Regions from separate parts of the Homo sapiens genome. Here region 2 is linked to region 1. The links are contacts of gene promoters, found by promoter capture Hi-C in human tissues and cell types (Jung and others, 2019). All regions are on one chromosome and are shown on one strand. The core of a region is centred on a gene start or on the middle of the fragment in contact, and the rest is flanking DNA. Distances in the headings are between cores, read along the strand shown. Region 1 holds the start of HSF2BP (heat shock transcription factor 2 binding protein). Region 2 holds the start of LINC01679 (long intergenic non-protein coding RNA 1679).

Region 1 (6,681 bases), core at 1,217-3,716:
AGGGCAAGATGCTAGGCGAGGCTTTTTGAAGGAAGTGATACTGAACTGAATGCTGGCAGTGAAGAAGGTGTGGGATTCTTTGCAGAGTGAACAGGAGAAGCAAAGGCAGAGAGGTGAGAAATTGTGTGCTGTACACCAAGAACCATCACCGATTCTGTTGACGGAACATGAAGCAGTTACACGGGGCTTAGGCAGGAAGAGCACCTGAGGACAGATCATGACTTGCAGACACTGAATTTCAAAAAATATTGGTGATGTGGGATCAGATTTGTTTTAGGAAGATGACCCTGGGCTGGTCTGTGGAGGACAGATTCCTGGGGACACAAGTGAAGTTAAGGAGACCAGTTGGGGAATATGCGGGCGCAGAAGTTTCGGTGAGATACAAAGAGCCCACGGTCAAGAATTTATGTCATCAGGAGGTGAACGAGGGAGGACGGGGGTCCTCCCACTGGATGTGGGCCAGGGGAAGAGGATGAGGAATTCAGAGGAGTCCAGGACAATCCCGTGTGTCCGGCTGGAATCTGAATGGCTGGTGGGAACCAGCAACCAAAAGAAAAGAAAACAGGTGGCAGTGGAGCAGCAGCAGAGAACAGGATTTCGGGGAAAGAAAACAGAACTTTTTTTGGCATCCTGAGTGTGAGGTGCCAGGTAGAGAAGCCAGGCTAGCAAGGCACATCCGAGCTGCAAGTAGGAATGGGCTGGGACAACAATTTAGGTTTAGAAACCACCAGCATATATGGGGTACCTGGAACTGTGAGACTAAACAAAATCTCTTGGGGAGATTCTTAACAGAATCAAAGTCAGGAATTTTGGTCTTTATTCCTTTTTCTATCAGACTTCCCAGGAAAGTGTATTTTCTTTTTTTGGGTAGTCTGGTGATTTCTCTTAAAAATAAAACAAACTGAGAATGTCAGTGATGGGGGAGATAATATCTGTTCTTTTAAGCAGATTCTAAATGTATTAGTACCATCAGTAACTAAATAAAACTTTATCTTAAAACCTCTATTACACATTGTAGTTCATATTGTATGGGCTCACTCAAGAGTTTATAGAAAGTATTTTTGGATCAGGTAAATGAAATCATCCAACAGCAGTGCCGTTAAAATCTAAACTACAAAGCCCTGTGTGATCTGGCCACTGCCTACATCTCCAACTTCATCTCATAACACTCGCCCCCCCAACCCCAACTTATTGGTCTTTCAAACCACTCCTAGGGCACGTGAAGCTCTTTCCTGCCTCTGCATAGGCGGTTTCCGCTCATTTCTCTTCAGATCTGAGCTGATTATCAGCCCAGAGAGGCCTTCCCAGAACAGCCTATCAAGAAGAGCAACCTCCTTCCCTTTTTGCTATTATCTGGTTTTCTTTTTCCTTTTTTCTTTTCTTTTCTTTTTGAGACGGAGTTTCGCTCTTGTTGCCCAGGCCGGAGTGCAATGCTGCGATCTCGGCTCACCGCAACCTCCGCCTCCCAGGTTCAAGCGATTCTCCTGCCTCAGCCTCCCGAGTACTGAGATTACAGGCATGCGCCACCATGCCCGGCTAATTCTGTATTTTTAGTAGAGCCGGGGTTTCACCATGTTGGTCCGGCTGGTCTCGAACTCCCGACCTCAGGTGATCCGCCCGCCTCGGCTTCCCAGAGTGCTGGGATTACATGCGTGAGACACCGCGCCCGGCCTGCTACCTGGTTTTCATTTCCTTTACTACACTTACACAAGGTCTACTTTATTTGCCTGTTTGCCTCCTTGCTTTATTACTAATAGATCCTCGAGGGTAGTGATTTTGTCTGTCTTCTCTCCTGCAGCCCCGTCACGTAAAGGTGCTGGTCAAAGGAAGGCGGCAATCACCGACCGGACACCAGGGCAAATCAGGGCAGCCCAGTGATTCGAGATGCCGGCTGGGGAATCGGACCCATGTGGGTCTTTTCTCAGCTTCCCCGCTTACTGTGACTTTCATAAGTAACGGAACCCCCTCAACCCGTTTCCTTAAGTGTAAAAAGGCACTAGACACAGCAAGAAGCGGTTCCGGCAGCGCGGAAACCGAAGCACACGCTGGGTGTCACGACAACACGTGGAAGCCGCATTCCGTGCCGGGGCCCTGGCCCTAGCCCCAGCCCCGGCCCCCGGCCCGCCATGTGGCGCGGCTGACCGCGGCCGTGCGCCCACCTGTCTCCCTCTGCGTCTTCACGCTGATGTACTGGCGCAGCTTCTTCACCGCTCGGTCCCGGATGCCCTTCTCGCTGGACGCCAGCCGCTGGGCAAATTGGATCTCGGCCGGCTGCATGGCGGGGGCCATCGCGCCCGCTGGAGCATCCCCGGCCGCGCAACCCGCGGTGCCGCTGCAGCCAGCCGAGCGCTGCGGAGCAGCCAGCCACCGTCCGCCCGGGCCGCGACTGCACAGAAGGCGGCGGCGGCGGCGCGCGGGCTGATGGCGTCACAAAGGCGCCGCGGCTCGCAGCGCGCTCTGGGAGTGAGCGCGGCAGTGGCCCTGGCAGCTGGCGGAGCGGCCCAGCCCGTGTGCACGTGGCGCCGGCGCTGCCTTTCGGTTGCCAAAATTCAGGCTGTAGACGGCGAGGTTAGCCAGGGTTAGGACTTGACCAGGAAGAGACGGAAGGCTGTTTGTAAACGGTCTAGGATTTTTTGTTTGTTTTTGAGACAGGGTCTCCCTCTGTCGCCCAGGCTGGAATGCAGTGGCGCGATCTTGGCGGTGATCCTGGCTCACTGCAGCCTCGACCTCCCAGACTCGATCGATCCTCCCATCTCGACCGCCCAAGTAGCTGAGACTACAGGCGCGCGCCATCACGCCCCACTATTTGTTATTTTTTTGTAGAGACGGTGTCTCGCTATGTTGCCCAAGCTGGTCTCAAACTCCTGGGCTCAAGCAATCCTCCCGCGGCGGCCTCCCTGATCGCTGGGATTACAGGCTTGAGCCGCCGCGCCTGGCCACGGTCCAGGATCTTTAATCCCATTTAGCACACCTCGTTGAGCCAGCAGCTTACCTGCGATCTCCGTGGCGTGGAGTTTTTAACTGTGGAGCCCCCGGGCCCCCGGGTGGAGTTGAGACTGGAAGGAAAGGCCGGCACTGGGGCCTGTTGAGCGGGTGGAGGGCTCGCCTTCCTCCAGTGCCTGCAGAGGCTTGGGCAGATCGGTGCGCCCCTACCCCGGAGCCCTGGTGCCAGTGCAAGGGCGCCCGCGCAGGCGTCCCGAGGCCTGGCGAGCACGCGCGCTTCCAGGGGAGTTGGGCAGGGCGGGCTGCTTGCTAATTCCAGAGAGGGAAGAAATCTTAGCTTTGGGTTCATCTAAAACCCGAGGCCATCCTATATTTTGCGGACTCAGCGGGCGTGCTGGGGCAAGTTAATGGACTAGGTCACTCCACACGTAGCGGGGGTTATCTCAGTTGCTCCGCTCAGTTGTCTAGGCGACCTCCCGAGGTGCCTGTTGACACAAAAATTCAACCCTTAACGTAAAAGCGCCTGAATCCGAGCGAGGGAAGGCGCGCGGAGGCGAGGTTTCCAGCAAAGACTGCCCATTTGAACGCAGTCCCCCTTAGTGTAGCATTCCTCGCCAAACAGGAAAGGACCCATCCGATTTATTTTACTTGACACTTACATCAGGGGCTGACTTTCCTTCTGCTTTGCAGATAACAAGTTTAAAACCCCGGCTAAGCCAGAAGAGCCAAAGAGGGACCTCGCCAAGGCCACTCCTCGCTCTCTAGGCCGAGAATACTGCGCAAATTCTGGGAGGTTTGGGCCTGGCGGCTCTCCGTTCCCGACCCCCGGCGTGGATTCGTTCCCGCGCTTTCTGGCGTGAGGGGTCAGAGGGCGCGCCGACGCTCAGGCGAACGGAGCGGAGGCGGCAGCGGCCATGGGCGAAGCGGGCGCCGCTGAGGAGGCCTGCCGGGTTAGTGAGGAAGCCCTGGCCGACGCCAGCGTGTTTGAACCGTCGCCATTCGCTCCCCTCAGGGCCTCGCCCCGTGCGCTCGGAGACGGCTCGCTGTCGCGTGCTTGGGGGAAGCCTGGAGACTTCCTCCCCTAACGGCGTGGGCTGGGCCGGAGCGGGGTGGAGACCTGGGGCGGGAGGCGACTTCGCCTCCAAACCCACGCGGGGACCCGGTCTGTGAGGCTGCGCGTGGTGGGGGCACTCAGTGGCGCCAAAGCGGGCATGGGAGCGTGGGATGGATGGTCACTCTCTTCTCTGCTCCGTGGAAGCCCAGTTCCCCTCCGAAGGCCCTGGCCCCCTGCTTCGGGACTTAGCGTCAGGCTTAGAGAGAATCTGCCCTCCATCGATTTTATAACTGTAACTGATTGCATGCGATGGAGAAGGCGCTTGGACTGGGGCCAGATCCGTGTTCACATCCTGCTTCCACCCGTTATTAATTGTGCTGCATTGAGAGTCATCTAGCTCCCGTGCCTTAATTTCCATCTAGACAATCTTGGAGGCTTGGGGTGAATAGTAGATGAGATCACGGGCGGAGGGCTTGGCAAACCCAGTAGGAAACCAGATGACTTCCTTTTCCTCCTGATTAGTTTGGTGCTGCAGTGATAAAAAGTTGCAGGCGTTTTCTTTGACTTTTAGGAATAGAGCTCTTGTATGACTTTTCTTTTTCGTGGTCTTGCTCTGTTGCCCAGACTGGAGTGCAGTGGCACGATCATAGCTCACTGCAGCCTCCAACTCCTGAGCTCAAGCCTTCTTCCCGTGTCAGCCTGCTGCGTACAGGCGCCGGCCACCACACCTGGCTAATTTTTGTATTTTTAGTGAGATGGAGTTTCACCATACTGGTCAGGCTGGTCTTGAACTCCTGACCTCAGGTGATCCACCCGCCTCGGCCTCCCAAAGTGCTGGGATTACAGGCGTGAGCCACTGCGCCGGGCCTCCTGGGCACGTTTTCATATTTTTGTAGTGACAGGGTCTCTCCATGTTGCTCAGACTGGTCTTGAACTCCTGGCCTCCCAAATTCCTGGGATTTCAAGTGTGAGCCACCATGCCTGGCCTGTTTGTCCTTATTATTTTTAACATCTGGCTCCCTTTTTGAAGGCTGAAGCTTCAGCTTTCAAAATGTTTGTATGTACATAAAATATATCTATAGCAGAATATACAGTAGGTAGAGACATGATTTGAAACAACGATGCACATAAGAGGTGTGAAAGAAAAGCAAGTTAACTTGAGCTGTTGTTTTTTTTCTCATGTGAAGAGAAATATAATAAGATCTGCTTGTTCTTTTAGCACATGGGAACTAAAGAGGAATTTGTTAAAGTCAGAAAGAAGGATCTGGAACGGCTGACAACTGAAGTGATGCAAATACGGGACTTCTTACCCAGAATACTAAATGGGGAGGTGCTGGAGAGCTTCCAGAAATTAAAGATTGTAGAAAAAAGTGAGTCTTCATTTTCAGCAGTCATTGGTGGTAACAGTAATTTGTTCTAGCAGATTTACCCTAGGTAAATAATTGTAAACGAATTTTAAGGTACTCTTACAGTCCTTGTGATGATATTTGGGAGAGTCTGATGACCTAAGAAAGGGAGGTTTCCTCAGTGTAGTGACTTGGACATATGTAAGTTGGTATAAGTTGGTTGCCAGTTTTCTGAGCATCTATTAACAGCTTCTCTTTCTCTCTCTCTTCATTGGCAGAAGAATTTTATACTTTTGATAACTGAAAAGCTCTATTCTGAAAATTAAGTACTTACTGTGTAAGTTAAGGATCTTGCCAAATGGAAACCTTGCATGGAGTTTACTTGTCAGTAGAGATAGCTGGAAGTGTGTTCACTTATCTTTAGGTGGATGGGTGAGCCAGTATCTAGAACTGATTGAAGTTTAGGCTTTCTGGTGTCCATTCAGACTTTTGAGATTTGAGCTGAGCTGTTATGTTGAATACCAGTTTAGGAGCCTATTGAAGTTCCTGGACATACTCTGAGATTGTCTCAGCACTTGCTTGATTGAGGCCAAATCATGATTAAATCAGCCTTTGACGGTAAAGGCCAATTTACTGCATGACATTTGGTTGTTATCCCTCCCTGTGTGCCCTCTAGAAAAGGTGCATCCAGGGGGCCCAGGTAGCTGTAGCACTTGTCCAGACAAGAAGATAGCTCACCCCGAGAATATGAGTTTCTGGCATGTGCAAACGTATCTGGTCAGTGGGCCAGCCACATCCAGTTAGAAGGGACAGTTCTCATCCACCGTACCTTGTCCTGTTTATATTCTCTCCGAAGTCCTTGGATCCAGTCTTCTCTGCCCTGTGGTGTGCTCTGGGAGGTAGATCCCTACAGATGGGGCTCTCCTGGTTCCCTTGCTGGCTGCCAGTGGGGCTCACCAATGGAAGGCATTGCTGGGTGGAGAGAGAGGTTGGGGTGTTTCTTCCTGCTCCCTCCCTGCTTTGCTGCTGTTTTGTGGCAGTAGCTGCATCCCTCCACAACAGAGACTCCTGTCTAGAGGCCTCTTCCGTAGTCCTAGCTCTTGCTGGACTGCCCCTGCTCCTGTGGCTGTAGGGCTGTTGCTAGTCCCTGGGTACCTCGCTGTCCCTTGGTGGTTCTGTTATCTCTGCTCTCCCCTCTGTAAGTGGTCCCTTCAGAAAAGTCTCAACATCTGGGTTGATTTCTCTTTCCCACTGGGACTCTGCCAGATACATGGCGTGTCATTGGTTGCCAGAATGCCAGGTCATTGACTTCTAATTTCTCTAGTTTTGATTTCATGC
Region 2 (6,681 bases), core at 2,389-4,888, 300 kb after region 1:
AGCCCCGGCCACCACAGCCGGATTGTGCAACCCCATTTTCCCTTAAGAGCAATCAGCCTGTTGAAACTAGAGATGGAATTAGCACCTTAGAGCTAAGGGCAACACAGAAGTGGGGAAGGGTGAACCTTGAGGGTGTGTCCTCAGCGGTGGGTTTGTCTCTCCCAGGCAAGGCGCTCTGCCTGCGGCTCAGCCCGGCTGAACGGGTGCTGGGCCTGTCCCTTCCCAGGGCCCAGCAGCTGAGCTGGAGGACGAAGCCCGGGTGGACGCTCCACACCATGGCCTCCAGGGAGTGTTCCCGACCTGGAGGAGGCAGGTGGGCTCCCCCTTGACCAGGATGCAGATGACCCCCTTGTGCCACCTGCACGATGCGCCCTAAGGGGCAGGGCCACTCCTCGTCTGCCTTCCTCTCCTGCAGGTCACCGGGGTGGCCCTGGTGGAGACTGACCTGGAGGGAGCCAGGCTCCCAGTGCCTCTCTCTGACCCAGCTGCAGGAGGGGCGCCTGGTGGCTTGCGTGCTGTGCCCTTGAGGATCATCTGTAACCAGCACCAGCCCCACCCTGCCCTCCGGACAGGACGCGCGGGCCAGGTTGGCGAGTCTGGAGGGGCTTTCTCAGGCATAGCCACTGTGAGAGCCGAGGTCCCCCACAGCCTGCAGCAGGGGACCTTTTCCCTGAGACCATGGGTACTTGCTGTAGTCCAGCTGGCGGGCCTGAGATCCTGACCCCATGTGCACATGGTCGGCACTATTGCATCCACTGGAAATTTCAAAGTAAAATCAGGACACGTGGGGGCAGGGAAGTGGGCTTGAGCGCTTCGCAGAGAGACCCTGCACCACCTCCCATTTGCTACGCTGGTTTCTTGAATGAGCGGCCCTCATTCATCAGACACCAATCTGCCCACAAACTTCTGACCAGGATCTGAGAATTCAGAGAAACCAGCCCCAAAACCACAGGCCTAGAAGCCTGGAACCCAGAGAGTGATTCCAGGAAATCATGGCAGGTGCACGCTGAGGTCACTTAGGCTGACCACAGCGAAGGTCAACGGCGGCCATCATAAATCAGTTTGCCCAGGACAGGCCCAGTGATGCCTGTGGTCCCAGTGCGTGTATTAACAACCTTCTCCTTTCTTCTCAAGGGGCTCAGATGGGTCGGTAGATTATACGGTCACCCTTGTCATGTCGGATTATGAACAAAATTTCAAGAGCTGCCTCCCTTCAACAAACCCACTGTGCAAAAACCCATCTTCCTAGTCAAGCAAATTAGGAAGAGATTATTCATTTTCCAAAAGACTTTTCCTTTGGCCAGGAAAGAACACCCTTAGTTTGCCAGAAAATCCTGCCAGCCGCCTCCCTGAGTGCATGGACTGCTAGATTCCGTTTTGTAAAATCGAGACAGCGGCTCAGGCGCACATGCAGTGCGTGGAGTGCAGAAGGCCTGGGTACTCCGGAAGCTTCCAGAGACAGCGTGGGGCGGCTGACGTGCGGGGAGACACAGACGTGGAGGACGCCACGGCCGCCTCGCCCCCAGGGCTCCCGGAGCGCGGCTGGCTGAGGAGCCAAGCAGATGGTGCTGCTGAGCGTTTCCTGCCTGGGCGGGAGGAGGTGGGGTTGCCGCCGGCGGGGCCTGTGACTGTGAGTGCGGCTCGCTGAGCAGCTGATGTGGGGGGTAGGGGGGGCGCGGATTACGCCATGTGTGACGGCAGAGGGGGGACAACGTGTCGAGAGACGTGGCCTTGGATGTAAGGAAGGGTCGTGAGAAAATACGCAGGAAGAGATACCCCGTGGACATGTTTCCCTTGGAAAGTGGAGGGAACCCTCTGAGCCGTGATTCCGCCTGAATTAAGCAGTGGCGGGCACTGGCCTGGCAGGCGGCTTCTACTGCCTTGGATTTGCACCTCTAAGGGGTCACAGGGGCCACCCCCGAAACAAGACAAAGTGTGATCATGGACAGGCCCTCGGGGGGCCGGAAGAAGGAACGGCTCCAGTGATGAAAGCTGAACGCCAGCTCTCTCCCCATCGTTCTCCCGGACCAGGAGAGGGCTGCTCGGCAGGGCTAGGTTTAAAAACCTTCCATGCAACTTACGAAGGCATCCACAGTGACTTCTGCTGCTGTGGTACGTTCTGCCCTCCCCTCCTCCCCGCCCCATCCTGTTCTCGGCTACAAGTTATTTATATGTACAGTGTCATCTGAACGTGCACGGGCCTATCCCAGGACATCACACACAAAGAGGCGGCGGTGAACCCAAGCCGCCGGGCCGGCCTGTGGCTCAGTGTGTGTTTCAGAAGTCCCGGCCCCAGGCAGCTCTCCTGAACAGAGCCACTGGAACTCAGGAGGGTCAGGACCACAGCCCAAACAACTGCGACCGAAAACACCCTACAGGGCTTGAGAACTAAAAAATAAGGAGGGATCTGGGCAGCCGAGCTGCCTCCTAAAGAAGCCACGTCATAGAGAAAACTGCTTGCTCTATCCATGAGACGGAGGCGGCCGGGGTGTCCTGCCAGCAGACACGGGTCTGTCCATCACCGGCCACCACGCTGCCTCTGTCCTTCACTCCCATTTAAGGGAAAACGATATCTCTTCATCTTTCTGCCCTGGACATTGGAAATCAGCGGTGAGAACAGTGCTCTTGCTACAAAATGCTCAGGTTCTAGAATGCTCCCATCTTTCCTTCCATTCCACATGGAGTTTATCCAAAGCACAAAGGCCAGTCACGGCACTGACATCCGTGGTGCCCGCTCACCGGGGAGTGGGAAGCACAAGCCTGTCCTCAGAGGACCGTGACTGTGAGCCCGCAGCTGCTTGTGGGTGGGGCCAGCCCGCAGCTCCTCCTGGAGGCCTCGGGCTTCTTGCTGCTGCATTTCTGTGACATGTGGAGGGAGGATCGTTTTGACACCTGCCTGGGAAGTTTCAAAGGAGATGGCCTCTGGGCAGGGGTTTTAAACTGAAGGGCACCACACAGATCCAGATGTGAACTGTGGCTGTTGTTTGCAATTGAAGCAGAGATGCAGAGGATGGAACAGGAGTGCTGGCCATGCTGCTCTATGGCCTTGGCCCAGCCAAGACCTGCAGTCAATGGGGCTACGGGACCCCCGCTACACAGGGACCTGGGAACCACCTTTGCCGCGGTTGACCGCTGGGCCCGCCATGCACCGCCCACACCTGGCTGTGCCTGGAGACTGAGAGCAGGGGGTGACGGTGGGCCTGGTGTGTGGAGTCCCGCAGCGGGAAGGGTGGGAGGGGAGGTGGGAGAGCGCAGTCACCCAGGGGTCCCCATGTGGGCTTGTACAGGCCTGGCCCAATCTGACAGCAACTGGGCAGGCAGAGCGAGCCCCCACTTTATGGGTGAGAAAACCGAGGCACGGAGAGGTGAATGCGCGTGGTATCAATGCCGCTAAGGCAGAAGTGAGGCGGAAAAGCCCGTCCTCGCGAGGGGCGGCCCTGTCTCCAGCTCCCAGGTACCTCCCGCTCATCTGCCCGAGGCTCCTGGGGATGTGGCTCTTGGGTTTCAGGAGGGCCCTGCTCCTCCTGTGGGAACCACGGACACGTGTGTGCCCGCGTGCCCTGAGCTCACACACACACACCATGGCGCATGGGCAGGGAAGCGGCGCTCCTGGCTACCCGGTGAGCATCTTTGCTTTCCTTCTGCTCTAAGTAGGCACCCAAGGAATACACGCGTTCACTCAGAGCCTGATTCATGTGACTGGGATAACACTGCGGGGAAAGGTTCTCACACAGTGGCTGACATGAGGATCCATTACAAGAGCCCAGGGTGGTCACTGCTAAGCATGGGGTTGAGGTGAATGGACCCCCAGCAGCAGCCAGTGACAGGGAGGGTTGGGGTGTGGGTTTAGCCGGGCAGGTGACTCTCTTTTGGGCAGCCAGGGGCTCGGGACGTGTGGACAGCACATGGTGAAGGCAGAGGCTGCGTGCTGTGTGCCTCAGAACCGGTGCCTGTTCCAGGTTAGGAACCAGAAAATCCCCTGCAGGGGCTTCTGCCCGCTCCCTCTTTGAAGTCCTGTTTTCATTTCCCCTGTGACACCAGCCTCTCCAAGCTCTATGGAAGGCTGGCTCTCCTGGCACGGCCTCCCCCGCCACTCTGGGTGCCGGCTCAGGTTCTCTGCAGACCCCAGGTTCTGCTCTCGGGTCTGCACCCAGCGTGATGGCCACCACCCACTCAGGACTCCATGGTGTCAAAAAAGTGCCAAGACCTGTTTCCTGCTTTAAAATACCATGCTGTTGGGAGTTTCTCTGAATCTTCTGTGATTCTGGAGGCTGCCTGATTTTAAAAAAATGTAGAAAATAAAATTAAAAACCATGCTGCAATGTAAAAGCCAGGATAAGCCTCTTGCAGCTGAATTCAGGTCTTGAAAGCTAACAAGTTTTGAGTTTCAGTACTTGCCCCCCAAAATGGTTGCTTATCGTGTGTGTGTGTGTGTGTGTGGTGTGTGTTTACACAGTGAACAACCTGATACCTTTGGCTGAAATGGGCTTTGTGTGGGCGTCGGGCCAGGGGGCTGCTGGGCTCCAATGTCTCCCAGCCCTGACTCCTGGGTGTTGGCCTGCCTCAAGTTTGCATATTCATTGACTGAAATCTATTTTATTTCCTCAGGAAGAGTCTCTCCCTTTTGCAAACGCCAGCCACAGAGGTTTATTTTTCTCCCTGAGAGAAGGAAGAGTGAAGGCTGAGACTGAGACAGAAGGACAGAAGGAGAAGACTTAGAAGCCAGTGAGCCCGGAACCACGAGACGCGCTCTGAGGACACGGGGCCTCGGGGAAACCGGGCACGGGCAGGGGTTGGTCTTGGCTTCCCCGCAACATTGCCGCGAGCTCGGGTGCCGTCTCCACTCGCAGGCTGGCCTGTCCTCTGCAGCCACGAGCTCAGGCACCGTCTCCGTTCATAGGCCAGCCTGTTCTCTGCAGCCTGAGGTCCCTGTGGTGCCAACATCCAGATGCTGAGATAATTCTGCCAGGGTGTTGGCTGATCGGTGATTGGTGGTTGGCTGTTCCGTGAGTTCTGCATTGATCTTGCTGGCTGAGCGTCCAATGCGGAGGGGCAGGTGCTGTTAGGGTCTCCACTCCCATCCCTCTCCCCAGGACTCATCACCCACTGCAACCGTAAGCTGCTAGGGGCTCACAGCCGTGAGTCTTTGGGACGGGTGGTCCCACCTGGCATGTAGCTCAGGCTCCTAGCCCCAGGACCCTGCCGCTGCTCCCCTCCCGCCCACATCTTGGCTTAGCCGTCTTCCCTGGCTGCCAGCCCCTTCCCCTGGTCTTAGTTGGCTTGAGCCACTAAACTGAAATAGCACACCCTGAGGCCTTCAACAGCAGACCTGATTTCTCACCATCTGGAGGCTGGAGGTCCAGGATCCAGGCCCCCAAGGCTGCTTTCTCCCCCACTCCCCCACCCACCTTCCAGGACACGCAGACTCCACCCTCTTGCTGCCCTGTCTCAGGGCTGTCCCTCTGGGCAAGCAGGCCCCTGGCATCCCCGTGTGTCTTCTCCTCCTGTTCTTATAAGGACACCAGTCATACTGGATCTGGGCCCACCCTAGTGACCTCATTTACCTTAATCACCTCTGAAAGACCTTGTCTCAAAAACAGCCACATTCTGGGGCACTGAGGGTTAGGGCTTTAACATGGGAATTTGAGGGATGCAATTCACCCCATAAAACCCAGACCATTCCCCCAGTAAATCACTTTCACAAGAGCTCTTCTCTCAGGCTTTGCTTCTGGGGGATCCCCCTTGAGATGGATCCATCTAGCTTCCTGCTTCTCAAAGAACAGAGGGGAGAGCTCTGGTGCGAAGGGAACGGGTGGCCTCGGGGACCTGCGGATAAGCTGCTGGCACTGCCAGGGGACAGGCTGAGCTGAAAGCCAGGAGGAGGGCGGCGAGGCCCGGGGCCGGACCTCATTCTTCTGAGTGTTATAAAATCTGGCTTTGCTCAGAAACTGCCCCATGTGTGCTTTTGTTAATTGAAGTGCAAAATTTTCTCCAAGTAATAACTGGAGTCGTTTAACAATACAAATAATTTGCACCTTAATTTGGTCGATGGCACAATTGCTAATTCCTAGAGACTCAGAGGAGCAAAGTGATCACGAATTCCAAGAGTGGAAACAAATCCATTCCGCAAATTTCACCCTGGCTTCTTCCTCGCCGGCCTGGGAGCTGCCCCGAGGGTCCTGGAACCTTCAGCTGCTTCCGGGCTCAGCCGGTGTCGTGGGGAGCCAGGTCCTGTGGTGGCTCCCAGCCCCAAAGCTGACTCTGCGTGGGACAACAAACGGTTTAATTAACCTCTCAGCTTTTTCATCTGTGAAGCGGAGCTTGGGATGCTTGCCACCGGACCAGGAGGCCACGAAGACGGATGTTAGAAAACCTCTGTGCCAGTGACGAAAGACATCGAAGCTATAATACCCTGTTAGGCAAAGCAAGAAGATAACTCATACATGCAGGAGACAGTCTCCTTGTGCAGAGGGGCCTTTGGAACCGATGTATGGTGGAGCCCTGAGAAACCTGAAGCTGTGTAGAGCCTGCAGCCCCCGCCCCACGTCCCAAAGCGATGTGGCCTGGGGAGCTCTTGTCCTGCCCTTTTTGGACACCCCCCTTCTTTGAGGGCATCTTTCTTCTTAAAGGTGTTGGGGCGGGAGTAGGTGGGGGTCTAGCTTTGCTGATTTCCTTGTAAGT

The links. Contacts are between HindIII fragments. The study calls those that stand out against the background at their distance.
Region 2: a contact is called between a fragment that was not itself captured here and the fragment with the promoter of HSF2BP in region 1, in 1 of the 25 tissues and cell types used here (IMR-90 fibroblasts).

The regions. Positions count from the first base shown.
Region 1 is chr21:43,655,273-43,661,953 of GRCh38, reverse strand. HSF2BP (heat shock transcription factor 2 binding protein) reads left to right here and starts at 2,466. Exons shown (of 9, transcript NM_007031.2): 1 at 2,466-2,568; 2 at 3,634-3,893; 3 at 5,217-5,367. The coding sequence starts at 3,858. RRP1B (ribosomal RNA processing 1B) reads right to left here and starts at 2,394. Exons shown (of 16, transcript NM_015056.3): 1 at 2,160-2,394. The coding sequence starts at 2,289. RefSeq lists an enhancer at 1,402-1,451 and a silencer at 2,172-2,361. The HindIII fragment of the contact is 9,655 bases long and covers 1-6,681 here.
Region 2 is chr21:43,357,414-43,364,094 of GRCh38, reverse strand. LINC01679 (long intergenic non-protein coding RNA 1679) reads left to right here and starts at 1,746. Exons shown (of 2, transcript NR_131902.1): 1 at 1,746-3,203; 2 at 4,609-6,040. RefSeq lists enhancers at 1-490, 2,337-2,486, 3,270-3,826, 3,827-4,384 and a silencer at 1,507-1,656. The HindIII fragment of the contact is 6,310 bases long and covers 484-6,681 here.